2 separate regions of the Homo sapiens genome follow, and region 1 is linked to region 2. Evidence: promoter capture Hi-C in human tissues and cell types (Jung and others, 2019). All regions are on one chromosome and are shown on one strand. Each heading gives the region's core, a stretch centred on a gene start or on the middle of the fragment in contact. The rest is flanking DNA. Distances are from core to core; before and after follow the strand shown. Region 1 overlaps LINC00539 (long intergenic non-protein coding RNA 539). Region 2 holds the start of SKA3 (spindle and kinetochore associated complex subunit 3).

What was found. Contacts are between HindIII fragments. The study calls those that stand out against the background at their distance.
Region 1: a contact is called between a fragment that was not itself captured here and the fragment with the promoter of SKA3 in region 2, in 1 of the 25 tissues and cell types used here (spleen).

Annotation. Positions count from the first base shown.
Region 1 is chr13:21,327,989-21,334,394 of GRCh38, forward strand. It overlaps LINC00539 (long intergenic non-protein coding RNA 539), which reads right to left. Exons shown (of 3, transcript NR_103841.1): 2 at 2,586-2,670. It also overlaps the pseudogene MIPEPP3. Among named protein-coding and RNA genes, the nearest start is that of LINC00539, 14 kb to the right of the region's middle. The HindIII fragment of the contact is 8,475 bases long and covers 1-5,557 here.
Region 2 is chr13:21,171,510-21,178,405 of GRCh38, forward strand. It overlaps SKA3 (spindle and kinetochore associated complex subunit 3), which reads right to left and starts at 5,043. Exons shown (of 9, transcript NM_145061.6): 1 at 4,866-5,043; 2 at 1,111-1,172; 3 at 830-995. The coding sequence starts at 4,968. MRPL57 (mitochondrial ribosomal protein L57) reads left to right here and starts at 5,149. Exons shown (of 2, transcript NM_024026.5): 1 at 5,149-5,208; 2 at 5,403-6,896. The coding sequence starts at 5,408. The coding sequence ends at 5,716. RefSeq lists enhancers at 3,116-3,838, 4,561-5,283, 5,299-5,618. The HindIII fragment of the contact is 23,400 bases long and covers 1-6,896 here.

The DNA of each region.
Region 1 (6,406 bases), core at 70-2,569, 150 kb after region 2:
TTGCATCCTGGCCCTAGCCCCACTTATTACTGCCTGTGTGACGTTGGGCCAGTCATCTGTGCTCTGGGCCAGCTCCCTTAGCTATAGAATGAGGTGCGGAGAGAAGCTGTGATCTCTACAGCCCCCTCTTCCTCAAGTGGCATGAACACTCTCTTTTTCTGGAAGGTCCCTTACCAACTGCTGGCAACCACTGCGAAGAGCAGTGGGCAGGTGGGTGCAGATGGCAGTGGTGCTGATGAGGGGTTGGGGGTGCTGGCACCTCAGGATAACTCAAAAGCGGTGCAGGCTGAAGCCCTTCCTCCCTCCTTCCTTCTACCTCCTGCCTGCTGAGCCCCCCAGGACCCAGCAGCTAATGTAATCGTCTCCTGGAATGCCCCATAATGGCCCTGCAGCAGTTTCTGCAGGCTCCGCCTCTCTGCAGGCAGCAGTCTGCGAGTTCAGAGGAAAATGAGCTCCCTGCTCTCGGGAAGGTGAAGTCAGCCTAGGACAGCGGCAGGACTGCAGCTCCCTCTGGACAAGGGGCCTGTGCAGCAGACCTCACCAGGTACCTTTCCCCACAGAACCTACACAGAAGCACAAGGTCCTTTGCTCCTTCTTTGATAAGGTGTCCTCTCTCGTGGTTGATTTCAAACTGTGTTGAGCTAAGAACCCTTTCTTTAAATGAAAGGTGTTATGGAAGCCTAAACAACACATTATTCAATAACGATTTCTTGAAATAAGTGTGTGTCAAATGCAGTGTCGAGAACTGGGTACCTGGTGGTAACCCAAACAGACTTTATCTCTGCCTTCATAGAGCTTGCTTTAGTGGGCAAATACAGCCATAAATGAGTAAATATTTACTAACTCTTCATTATGGTCAGTGTCGTGAAGGAAAAAAATGTGGGATGGCCTTTCGGTTGCATTATTAGGAACGATTTCCAGGTCAGGAAGTGATGCTTCTGCACCCAGCAGTACCTGTCAGTGTGAAATCTGGGGTGGAGACCAGGTCAGAGCTTTGGATGGCTGATGACACCCAGGAGGAAGAGGCAGCCTCTACACGCAGGTGGGACAGTGAGCCCCTGCCTTGTGGTCTGTGCTGAGCTTCCCCACAATGCAAGCCAAGGCATCAGCTCCCACCCACACCCCAAGGGACCTGCAGGAAACCAGGCTGCATTTCAACAACAAGCAGAAAGCACAGAGCTTTACACACAATCTAAATACATCAACCATTTGAAGATGCTAAACTCCATACAAGAGCATCACCAGACTCCACAAAAGAAAAAACTTATAACTGAGGAAACCGAGCTAATAGTCAAATCAGAACAGAAACTTATAATCTGTATACTTCGTATTTTGGAGAGATGTGGGTGGGTATCTATATGTCAAATGAGAGGAGATCATTACAATCAAGAGCTGGCAATTATGAAAAGAAACAGTGAAATTCCTGGGAGTGAAAAATATCAGTATTCAAAAATCTTTCTGGCTATAGTGAGGAGAATGAATTGCAAGGAGGTAAGACACACTTTAGCCAGGTAAGAGATGGTCGTGGCTTTGGCTAGGGTGGAGGCAGAGGAAAGGGAGAAGAGTAGATGGATTCAGAATACAGTTTGAAGAGTCAGCAGGACTTGCTAACCTCTTCAGCATTTGAGTGTGAGGATGAGGGAGAAGGAGCCCTCAGGGACGATGTCTGGAATGAACACAGAGCTGCCCCGGTTAAAGATGCTCAGGGATTATAATGCAGGGCCCCTGCAGAGACTGCGAAGGCCTCTTTACCCCTTTCCCTGCATCAAAATGAGGTAGCCCTGCCATCATACAATCCTCAAACTGCACCCTTCTTTCTCCTTATCCTATCCTTACCAGACACCCAGAGGGTTTGAAAGCAAGAGCCAAGCTGCATCCAGCACTGAAGGACCACTCTACTTATTCCTCCCTGATGTCTTCAGGGAGAGTCTGGCTGGTGAGGGAGGGAAATGTGACTGTTACAAGTTGGGTTCCCTTGAAAGCAGACTCTAAGATGGAGTTTTTTGTGTAGAATGCCTATTAAGGGGTCAACACCTGTGTAAAGAGGAGGAAGCAGTATGCAGAAACAGAAATTGAGCCAAGGTCAAAGAGAGCCTTGGTCAGTCCCACAGGTGCAGGGCTTGGAAGCTCAAATGGCCCTTCAGAGTTGTTTTAAGTTGGTCTGAGATGGCCAGATCTTTATGTGTCCACATCAATCAGTTGTTAGATTTGGGTGCCATGGGCAGGGGTGTGACATCAGTAAGGCTGCTCTCTGCAGCCCAGGCAACCTCTGTGTGCCAGCAGCACTCTGCACCACTGGGACTGCAAGTCCTTATTGAGGGGATCTACGTGGCACTTTACAGTGTTCACCATAGTGCCCAAGGCCAAGGTAGCCTCTCACGTGGCTTGAGGTACAGCCTTGTACATACCACGTTGTACCTTGTATGTACCTGGTCTGAGGTCATTCCTAAACATTACTGGGGAAAACCAGAAGTTCAGAAGCAAGGAGAGACCTAATTAAAACCAAGGAGACTATATATTAAGGTAGAAGAGTAAGGAATGGCTTTATATTAATACATAGTCAGCATAAAGCTGAAAACACTCACCCGTGGCAGACGGCATCATCTAGGAAGAATGTCTGGAAATTGATATTCTGCAGTTCAGATTTTACCAGTTCACAACGTAAATATCCTGTTGAGAAAAGCAAGTCTCACTCAGTTGATAAATATAACTCTCTCTGCTGCTTTCATTTCAGTTTCGAAATGACCAGGCTGGCAGTTGGCTGAGCCAGTCTCTTAGAACCCTTTGAAGCACTGGATGCAGGCTGATGAGCTGCCATAAACGTCTTTGAGTCCCAACACTGCTCAGGAACTGCATATCATACCAAAGTCTGCCTGTGTGATCCTTTAATTTGTGAATGTAAAAACTGAGGTGGGAGGCAAATACTGATGTTCTCAAAGACCCGTCTCAGCTATTCCATTCAAACAGAGCCCAGAATCTTCAAAATTCTGCTTCTTCAGCTTACCTCCTGTCTCAGGCTGGTTCCCCAGAAGCATCCCAGAGATGCAGATTTGTGAGAAAGTGATGTGTTGGGCAGTGTCCCCTGCAGGGAAGTGAGGATGCAAGACAGTGAGAAGGAAGCCAAGCAAGAGTGCAATGTCAAGCAAGGTCCCGTGCTTGCAGGGCACTGGCTCCTCCCACAGAGGAGATTTGGAGACTGAGAGCCCCTCCCTCCATTGGTCAAGGGCCATCTCAGAGGGATGCATGTTTCTAGGTATCCCCCACTCTCTCTGCACACAGGTAAAGGAGACTCCAGAAGCATGAGGGCAGCCCTCTCACAAAGAAGCATGGGTTCTGGATACCGAGAGTAAAAGCAAACGTGGAGCCAAGGGGTGTGAAAATGGGAAAGGGACCCAAGGAAATAGAGTAGTGCATCCACCATGAGTAAGTGCCACAGTCACTGGGTCAGCACCTGCTGTGTCCAACACCATGCTAAGTATCGTGGAGAGGAGAGAAGTTACTAGACTTCCCTGCTGTCATCCTTAATGGACTATTGTCTCTTCCCTAGACACCTCAAACTGGGATTTAAGGTACATAAGCTCTCAGAAATGGCTTCCTGGAATTATGGCCATGAACATCAGTGAACTGTTAGGGTCCGTAGTTACATCTGGAAAATGACTGCCGTTTCAATACACAGGATTAGTTACAATAACAGCAACAGCCATAATAATAATGTGGCAGAGACTAGCTTGATGCTCATCACATCTCTACCTGGGCACATAGCAAAGTTTTCTATTCCAGCTCCCACCCTGGATCTCGGGTCCTAGTTCTCAACAACGAAATGCTTCCAAGCCAAGTTAAAGCAGCCACAACTTTCAAACGAAAACCTAAAGATCCTGTGTTGAAGACAGTGGCACCTTAAAATGCAAGGGCAGTATCCTTGAGTCCTCAGGTCACCAGAAAGCCACCCGATCAGGACCATCGACACTAGACTCTGTGTTAGTGAGAAACAAACTTGTGTTAAGCCATCATGATTTTAAAGTTGTTAGCAGTCAGCTTGCTCCAATAGGATGAACACTAATAAACATAGCGGTAACAACCTGCTGGGTAGTATCATTATTCTCACTTTGTTGGTGAGGAACTTGAGGCCCAAAATGGTCAGAAAGTTAGCAGATGGCAGAGCTGGTATTTCAAGTCTATTTTTTAATCCCTATCTTGCACTCCTTGGTCACGTAAACCTTGTGTGAATATGTTTGATGCTTTAATGGAGCAAAGAGGAGAATATTAAAATACCAGGTTTCTTGGGTGGGATGTGGAGTGAGGAGGAAGAACACAAAACGGAAAGGCTCCACGCATCAGAAGCCAAGCTTTGGGCACTCCACAGTTTTGCTAAAGACTTCCCTGTCTGCTCACATCTGGTCTGTTCCCCAGTATCCTCACTGTATTAAAGTTGTTTCTTTGTCATATTTTGCTCTTTTTTCTGGTGTGATTCTATCAATTACTTGCTACCAAGGAGAAGAAATGAGATGATCAAAGGGGCATCCCCCAAATCCCCAAGGCTGTGCCCCTCAAGTTCAAGAAGAGAAAGCAGAGAACTCTTGTTTAACATGGACGTGTTAGTCGCTGTCCCCTCTGCCATCCCCCAACTTCGTTGTTCATAGAACTCTGATTTTGTTCATCTTATTCCAAGTTACCAAGTCCTTTAGGGAAGGCTAGGCTGCCCTCTTACCCAGGACTGAGAGTTCATGGTTGAAGCTAGAGAGGACGGAGTGATTTCCCCTGCTAAACAATTGGTTCAGGCATGTGACGCAATTGGGCCAATGGAGCTAAAAAAGGAAATCTGCTGATGGGGCTTCTGGGAAGGTTTCTCTTGGAAAAAAAAAGAAAAAGCCACAAGATAAAAATGTTTGCTTTTCTGCCTCTGGACTTGGGCTCTGTGTGTTGTTCCTGGAACCAAAGCACCTTGGGTCCATTAAGACAGCAGCCTATGAGGATAAACCAGAACACTGGGGATGGCAGGGTAGAAACATCGAAATAACCTGGATCTTTAAGACACTGGTGAGCTGGTGAATTAATCAACCCTGGAACTGCCATCCCCCCGGACTTCTTCTTATGTGAGATAACAAACCATCTAATTGTTCCAATTATGATGAATTAGGGTTTCTATTACTTGCAGCCAAATGCATTCCAAATGACTCAACTGATATTTTGTTCCATGTTCTTTGAGAAGAGCAGAGAAAGAGTTTCTGACTACCACAACCCCTTTCTTAGTGGCTCAGTCAGCTTTCTAAGTAGATTCTTAGTTTATACTCTTTCCCACTTCTCTTACTCATGATTCCACTAATCTTAAACCCCACATGTTAGAGAGAGGCTCTGCTGAATTCCAGCGTAACAAATTCTCGCTTTTACCCTCCTCCCCTCATTGGCCACCTGCCTGTTCTTATGGTTGTAAGCAGGAGAAAGATGTTGAAAACCATGAGTCCTGACAGTGCTTAGTCAAGTGATGGCAAATGTTTTCTTGGGTTTCCATATGTGAGTAATTGAAAAAAAAAAAGGGGGAAAAAGGCTCATTTTTACTAACATTAATTAATTCACACAAGGTCACATTTTACATCATTTTAATTAACTTTCATTGAATTCATGTTCAAAATGAGAGGCAAAAAAATGTTCACTAATATAAGTCATGAGGACCCTAGGAATAATAGCATCGCATAGAAAATTGGAAGGAAAATTTTTTCCTTCTCATCGGATGCATGGTGGGGTTTGTGAATTCCTAACTTTTCTCCCACATATCCCCCTCACGGATGATAGGAAGAAATAGACTTGAAGGCATTAACTCTTTCTGGAAGCCTTTCCCAATACTTCTCACCCCTGCCTGTCTTCCTCCTCAGCCACTGGTTAGGTCCCCCATCCCTGTTAACACCCTGAAAACTTCCATCTCACAGCCACTACATTATCTTAAAATTAACTATTTACTTCTTCATTTCTCCCACAATACTGTGAGCTCCCTGAGGGGAAGAACTTGTGCTATTTATCTGTCTTCTAGCATGATACCTGGCATATATTAGGTGCTTAAGTTTATTGAATGAATGAAAGCCAAGAATACTTTTCCTTGGTTTCATTTTAATTTCACTAAGGATAATTATGTTTATATTGCTATATTACATCGTGTAAAATGGAAATTAAAGGGAAATTCCTTTAATAGTAGCACCAAAGGGCTGCATATGGCAGGGTAGGTGACAGACCACAGCTGGTGGCTGGGCCACTCTCTGAAACGTGGACTTAGGATTTGAGGGCTAGTCCTTGTGCCTCACACCTAGGATAACAGAGAAGTCCTAAAGTATGCCTGGTAGCACATCTGCACTCTTCTGGGTGGCTTCCAGAGATACTTTTGTTCCATGTTTTGGCTTTTACGACGGTCCCCAAA
Region 2 (6,896 bases), core at 3,793-6,292:
GAGCTTGCAGTGAGCCGAGATCGCGCCACTGCACGACTGAGCGAGACTCCATCTCAAAAAAAAAAAAAAGAAATGAAGACACTGAAGTTAGTCATTCAGAGGTATGGGCATAACAGTAACAGTTAATAATTAATCTTGGGTGACTGACATGCTAGGAACTGCTGTAAGCAACTTTATCTTATTTAATCCTTATACAATCTCATGAGATAGATATACTAAACATTCCCACTTTACAAATGAGAAACTGAGGCACAAGGTTAAGTAACTTGACAAAGATAATAATACAGCTATTAAGTGGTGGAATACGGATTTGAACTCAGGCATTTTGACTCCAAATTCTAAACCACTATGATAGAATGCCCTTCATTAAAATTTTAGAATCAAAAAAGGACTTCGTCAAATTTTATAGCCAATATCTCTTTCTATAGAAGAGAACACTGTGAACAAGAAAAATGAAATAACATGCCTCGAGGTCTCTCAGCTTTTATTGGCAGGGCTAACTAGAAACCACCTATCCCAAGTTTTGAAGATTTATCTTGTAGTTTTTCATTTAAATAGGCCATCTAGCCTAAATGTGCTAAATCTAGCATTGTGCTAGCTTTCATTTGGCATTTTGGAAAGGAGAACAAGGACTGTTTTTATATTACACCCCTGATTAGCACTCCAAAAGCACACCACACAGTGAGAGTTGACTAAATATTTATCAAATAAGCGTCAGATAACAACAGAGCTAGAACTAAAAACCATAGCCAAGGCTACAGTTGTCTTAATCATGCTGCCTTGTTTCTTCAATACTAAAACAAATGCTATAAAATGAAGTTATTCAAACCTGAATTTTTCTTGACACGTGGACTATATCCATACTTCTGGAAATACTCTCTTATTTTCATAATATCCATTGAATTTTTTTCCATTAGTACTTTTGTTGCCTTTATGAAATCAATGCCTTCTTGATTTTCCAATCTTGCTTTATCAAGAAGAATATTAACATCATCCTTTTATGAATAAAGAAAGTACATTTTAATTTCTCTAACTTCTGACTAAATCTATTTAGGATAAAAAAATTACTCGCCACAGAAAAATAATAAATCAATATTGTAGGAGTGATACCTTTAGAGTCTGAACTTCTGAATGAAGGTCATATAAAATTCTCATTGGATAATCTTCAAAGTCTTCAATATGAATATTGAAAGAAAAGAAGTCCAATAAATGTAAGGAAAAGGAGGAAGAAAAAGAATAGTATACAATCATATACCTTATAATGACATTGGTCAATCACAGATCACATATGACAGTGGTACCATAAGATAATACCATATTTTTTACCGTACCTTTTTTATGTTTAGATACACAAATACTTACCATAATGTTACAGTTGCTTACAGTATTCAATGCAGTCGCATGCTATACAGGTTTGTGGCCTAGGAGCGACAGGCTACACCATACAGCCTAGGTATGCAGTAGGTCATATCATCTACGTTTGTGTTACATATGCTCTATGATGTTCGCACAATAACAAAATTGCCTAACGTTGCTCAGAATGTATCCCCATTAAGTAACATGACTGTATAACATACATACTGAAAAGCATACAAATCCTAAGTATATAGTTTAATGAACTTTATAAAATGAGCATACCTGCACAACTGGCCCTCAGCTCAAGAAAAAGGAGAAACAGAGCCTTAGTAGAACTCTAGAAGCCCTCTTATAGTCTCTCCCTTCCCCACAAGGGTAAACTTTAGCCTGATTTCTTTTTCTTTTTTTGAGATGGAGTTTCGCTCTTGTTGCCCAGGCTGGAGTGCAATGGTGCGATCTTGGCTCACTGCAACCTTCACCTCCCGGATTCAAGCGATTCTCCTGTCTCAGTCTCCCAAGTAGCTGGGACTACAGGTGTGCGCCACTACATCTGGCTAGTTTTATATTTTTAATAGAGATGGGGGTTTCACCATGTTGGTGAGGCTGGTCTTGAACTCCTGACCTCAAGTGATCCACCCGCCTCGGCCTCTCAAAGTGTTGGGATTATAGGCGTGAGCCACTGCACCCAGCCACCTTACCCTGATTTCTAACGCCATGAAGTAGTTTTGTCACTTATGAACTTGATTTAATGGACTCAAACAATATGTACTCTTTTGCGACTGGCTTCTTTCACTCAACTGTTACATTCTTCCACGTTCGTAATCTAATCCATGTTCATTATTGTGTAGCATTTCCACTGCGTGATACCATATTTATTTATTCTATTGTTGAAACACTTTGGATTGTGCCTAGTTTGGAATTATTATGAATACTCTTGCTTTGAACTTCCTAGAACATGTCTTTGGTACCAACGTATTCATATTTCTGTATGTTAAGAGACTCAGAAAAAGTGCTGGATTATATGTTATGCATATGCTCAACTTCAGTAAATACTGCTAGTTTTCCAACATGATTTTTACAGTTCACACTCCCACCAGCAGTGCATAAGAAGTGCATTTGTTCCTGCTCATCATCACTGGCCATCAGAGAAATGCAAATCAAAACCACAATGAGATACCATCTCACACCAGTTAGAATGGCAATCATTAAAAAGTCAGGAAAAAACAGGTGCTGGAGAGGATGTGGAGAAATAGGAACACTTTTACACTGTTGGTAGGACTGTAAACTAGTTCAACCATTGTGGAAGACAGTGTGGCAATTCCTCAAGGATCTAGAACTAAAAATACCATTTGACCCAGCCATCCCATCACTGGGTATATACCCAAAGGATTATAAATCATGCTGCTATAAAGACACATGCACACTTATGTTTATTGCCGCACTATTCACAATAGCAAAGACTTGGAACCAACCCAAATGTCCATCAATGATAGACTGGATTAAGAAAATGTGACACATATACACCATGTGCAGCCATAAAAAAGGATAAGTTCATGTCCTATGTAGGGACATGGATGAATCTGGAAACCATCATTCTCAGCAAACTATTGCAAGGACAAAAAACCAAACACCGCATGTTCTCACTCATAGGTGGGAATTGAACAATGAGAACACTTGGACACAGGAAGGGGAACATCACACACTTGGGCCTGTCATGGGGTGAGGGAAGGGGGGAGGGATAGCATTAGGAGATATACCTAATGTAAATGACGAGATAATGGGTACAGCACACCAACATGGTGCATGTATACATATGTAAGAAACCTGCACGTTGTGCACATGTACCCTAGAACTTAAAAGTATAATAATTTTAAAAAAAGAAAAAAAAAGTGCGTACTGCTCCAACAACAACAACAACAACAACAAAAAGCGCATTTGTTCCACATCTTTCCAAACACTTGGTAATTTTCTCTTTTTCGTTTTAGCTATCCTGCTGGGTATGCAACTGTACTACATTGAGATTTAATTTGCATTTCCTTGATGACTAATGAAATTTGCATTTCCTTGATGACTAATGAAATTGATGTCTTTTCACATTCCTGATGACCATCTGAAGATAGTTTTTTCTTTCTTAGATGGAGTCTAAGATCGCTCAGGCTGGAGTGCAGTGGCGCGATCTCGGGTCACTGCAACCTCCGCTTCCAGGGTTCAAGCGATTCTCCCACCTCAGCCTCCGAGTAGCTGGGATTACAGGCGCCCACTACTATGCCCAGCTAATTGTTTTGTATTTTTAGTAGAGACGAGGTTTCACCACGTTGGCCAGGCTGGTCTTGAACTCCTGACCTCGGGCGATCCACCCACCTCGGCCTCCCAAAATGCTGGGATTACAGGCGTGTGCCACCGTGCACGGCCAAATCTTTTTTTCTTTTTGAGACGGACTCTTGCTCTGTCGCCGAGGCTGGAGTGCAGTGGCGGATCTCGGCTCACTGCAAGTTCCGCCTCCCGGGTTCACGCCATTCTCCTACCTCAGCCTCCCGAGTAGCTGGGACTACCGGCGCCCGCCACCACGCCCGGCTAATTTTTTGTATTTTTAGTAGAGACGGGGTTTCACCGTGTTAGCCAGAATGGTCTCGATCTCCTGACCTTGTGATCCGCCCGCCTCAGCCTCCCAAAGTGCTAGGATTACAGGCGTGAGCCACCGCGCCGGGCAGAAATAGACATTTTCAAGTGACTGGAGATCATTCATTATATAATTAAAGTAAAAGTAGTCTGCAGGGTGTAATATTTTAAAGCACATTACAATTATGACATTTATGAAATAATTCCAAAATCTGAACTACTTTTTCAACAATTTAAAAAATCTCTAATAAAAAGGGGAATGGTGAATTTTGCTTTATTTATATACACATATTTTTTTAAACCCCAGCACTGTTGAGTACTAGTGTTTGTGTTGGCAACATGGTTTAGCGGGAAAAACACAGAGGTTTACTGCAACTGTGGACCACGTGAGTGAGAAAAAAGTCACTATATGTGTAAAGTATTGTGTAAAGAACGTTAAATAGCTTGATTCTAAGAGAAACTGTTTAGGTTTACATGGTATTTTACTGACAAGCACACATATTGTATGTGACGAAAGCATATCACGTATAAATTAGTATATGTATTATGAGCTCAATCTGTTAATTTAGGTTCTTATTCTTAAGTGCTGCTGTCTCTGTTTATAACGTAATAGTGCTACTTTCATTATCTCAAGAGAGCCGTGGGGTTGTACATGGGTCTAAAACGGACACGCGACAAGGGTTCCTAGGAATAAACCATAAACAGGCCCGGGAGCTACGCTAACGCCAAACGCCGAGCAGTGAGACGCGCAGCACCCGCCCTGCGCCTCGGTGGCAGCCGTCCACGCCGTCAGTGCCTGGCGGTTCCCGTGGGACATACCGTCCACTCGCCACGCCCCTCCGCCCGCGGCGCACCCCACGCACCGTGCCCTGGCCGCCCGCCTCACGCACCGCTTTCCTCTCCGTCCAGCGCTCGCTGCAGCCGGGCCGTCTCGCAGTCCAGCGTGCTGGCCAGAGACCGCAGCTTCCCGCAGAAGCTCCGGATAGGGTCCATGCTGAGCACAGCGGGGAAGGACTCCAGGCGTACGCAGACCCCACCGCTCAGCTCACAGCCTCCCGCCACTAGTTTGAATCTCGGCGCCGGACGCGTCCTCGGCTCTGCGCAGGCGCAGTCCTCTCTCGCGAGAGCCGAAGTCTCTCGCCGAGGCCCCAGGAGACCCCGCGAGACGGGTGCGCTTACGCCACGGCGTCTGCTGGCGGCCGCGGAGACGCAGAGTCTTGAGCAGCGCGGCAGGTGAGTAGCTGTGCGAATTCGGTTCTCTAGGGAGCTCCTTCTTCGCCTGCTGGCCTTACCTGGGCTCCCCGCTTCTCTGGAGGGGAGGCGGTGCGGGAACTCCCGTAGGCGTGAGCTGGAGCGCGCGCCCGCTGCTCTCTCCAGGTCCGGCCGCGCCAGTTCGCCTCCGCAAAGCCCGTCCCTCTCTTCCGCAGGCACCATGTTCCTGACTGCGCTCCTCTGGCGCGGCCGCATTCCCGGCCGTCAGTGGATCGGGAAGCACCGGCGGCCGCGGTTCGTGTCGTTGCGCGCCAAGCAGAACATGATCCGCCGCCTGGAGATCGAGGCGGAGAACCATTACTGGCTGAGCATGCCCTACATGACCCGGGAGCAGGAGCGCGGCCACGCCGCGGTGCGCAGGAGGGAGGCCTTCGAGGCCATAAAGGCGGCCGCCACTTCCAAGTTCCCCCCGCATAGATTCATTGCGGACCAGCTCGACCATCTCAATGTCACCAAGAAATGGTCCTAATCCTGAGTCGTCACCCTTGGATTTTATGGATCACGGAGCTGACCATCTTTACCTGGTCCTGGAACTGAAAAACTGTAGCTTGTGTGAAAATGAGCCTTTGGACCAGTCTTTATTAAAACAAACAAACATGAGTAGTCTGCATATCGAATATCTAGAGCTCTAAACCCCCAATACTTAAAAGTCTAATTGCTGTCCTGTGGTTTCATTAGTCTGATAGGAAGATAGGGATTTCCTCAGTCACAGATGATATTTTGAAGGAAAGCTGCAATAAAGCCACAATGATTTGAGGTCTTTGCTTAAGTATGAGATACTTGATGGGGGCTTTATCATGCAACATTAGTTTGCTTACCTTAAGAATTGCCCAAAAATGAAAGAAAATATGAGCTTTTCAGTTAAACATACTCCTAAAAACATTTTCCGGGATTTTACTACTAAAATTGGACATTTAAGCGAAGTAAAAGAGGCCGGGTGCGGTGGCTCACGCCTGTAATCCCAACACTTTAGGAGTCCAAGGCGGGCGGATCACTTGAGGTCAGGAGTTCAAGACCAGCTTGGCCAAGGTGATAAAACCCGTCTCTACTAATACAAAAAAAATTAGCTGGGTATGTTGGTGCAGGCTTGCAATCCCAGCTACTTGGGACGCTGAGGTGGGAGGATCGCCTGAACCTCAGAGGCAGAGGTTGCAATGAAGCGGAGGTTGCAGTGAGCCGAGAGCATGCCGCTGCACTCCAGCCTGGGAGACTGCATCTCAAAAAAGAAAAATAAACGAAGTAAAAGATATTTATCAGAGCTGTTACAGGAAGGTGTATTTTTTAGCTATTTTGGCAGGGTGCTGTGGTGCTTGCATGTAGTCCCAGCTATTCAGGAATATTGCTTGAGTCCAGCTTGGGCAACATAGCGAGACCCTATCTAAAATAACAATAATATATGGCCAGGCGGGATGGCTCACGCCTGTAATCCCAGCACTTTGGGAGGCTGAGGCGGGCAGATCACTTGAGGCCAGGAGTTCAAGACCAGCCCAACCAACATGGTGAAACCCTGTCTCCACTGAAAATACATAAAATTAGCCGGGTGCAGTGGTGAGGCCTGTAATCCCAGCTACTCAGGAGGCTGAGGCAGGAGAATCGCTTGCACCCAGGAGGTGGAGGCTGCAGTAAGTCGAGATTGTGTCACTGCACTC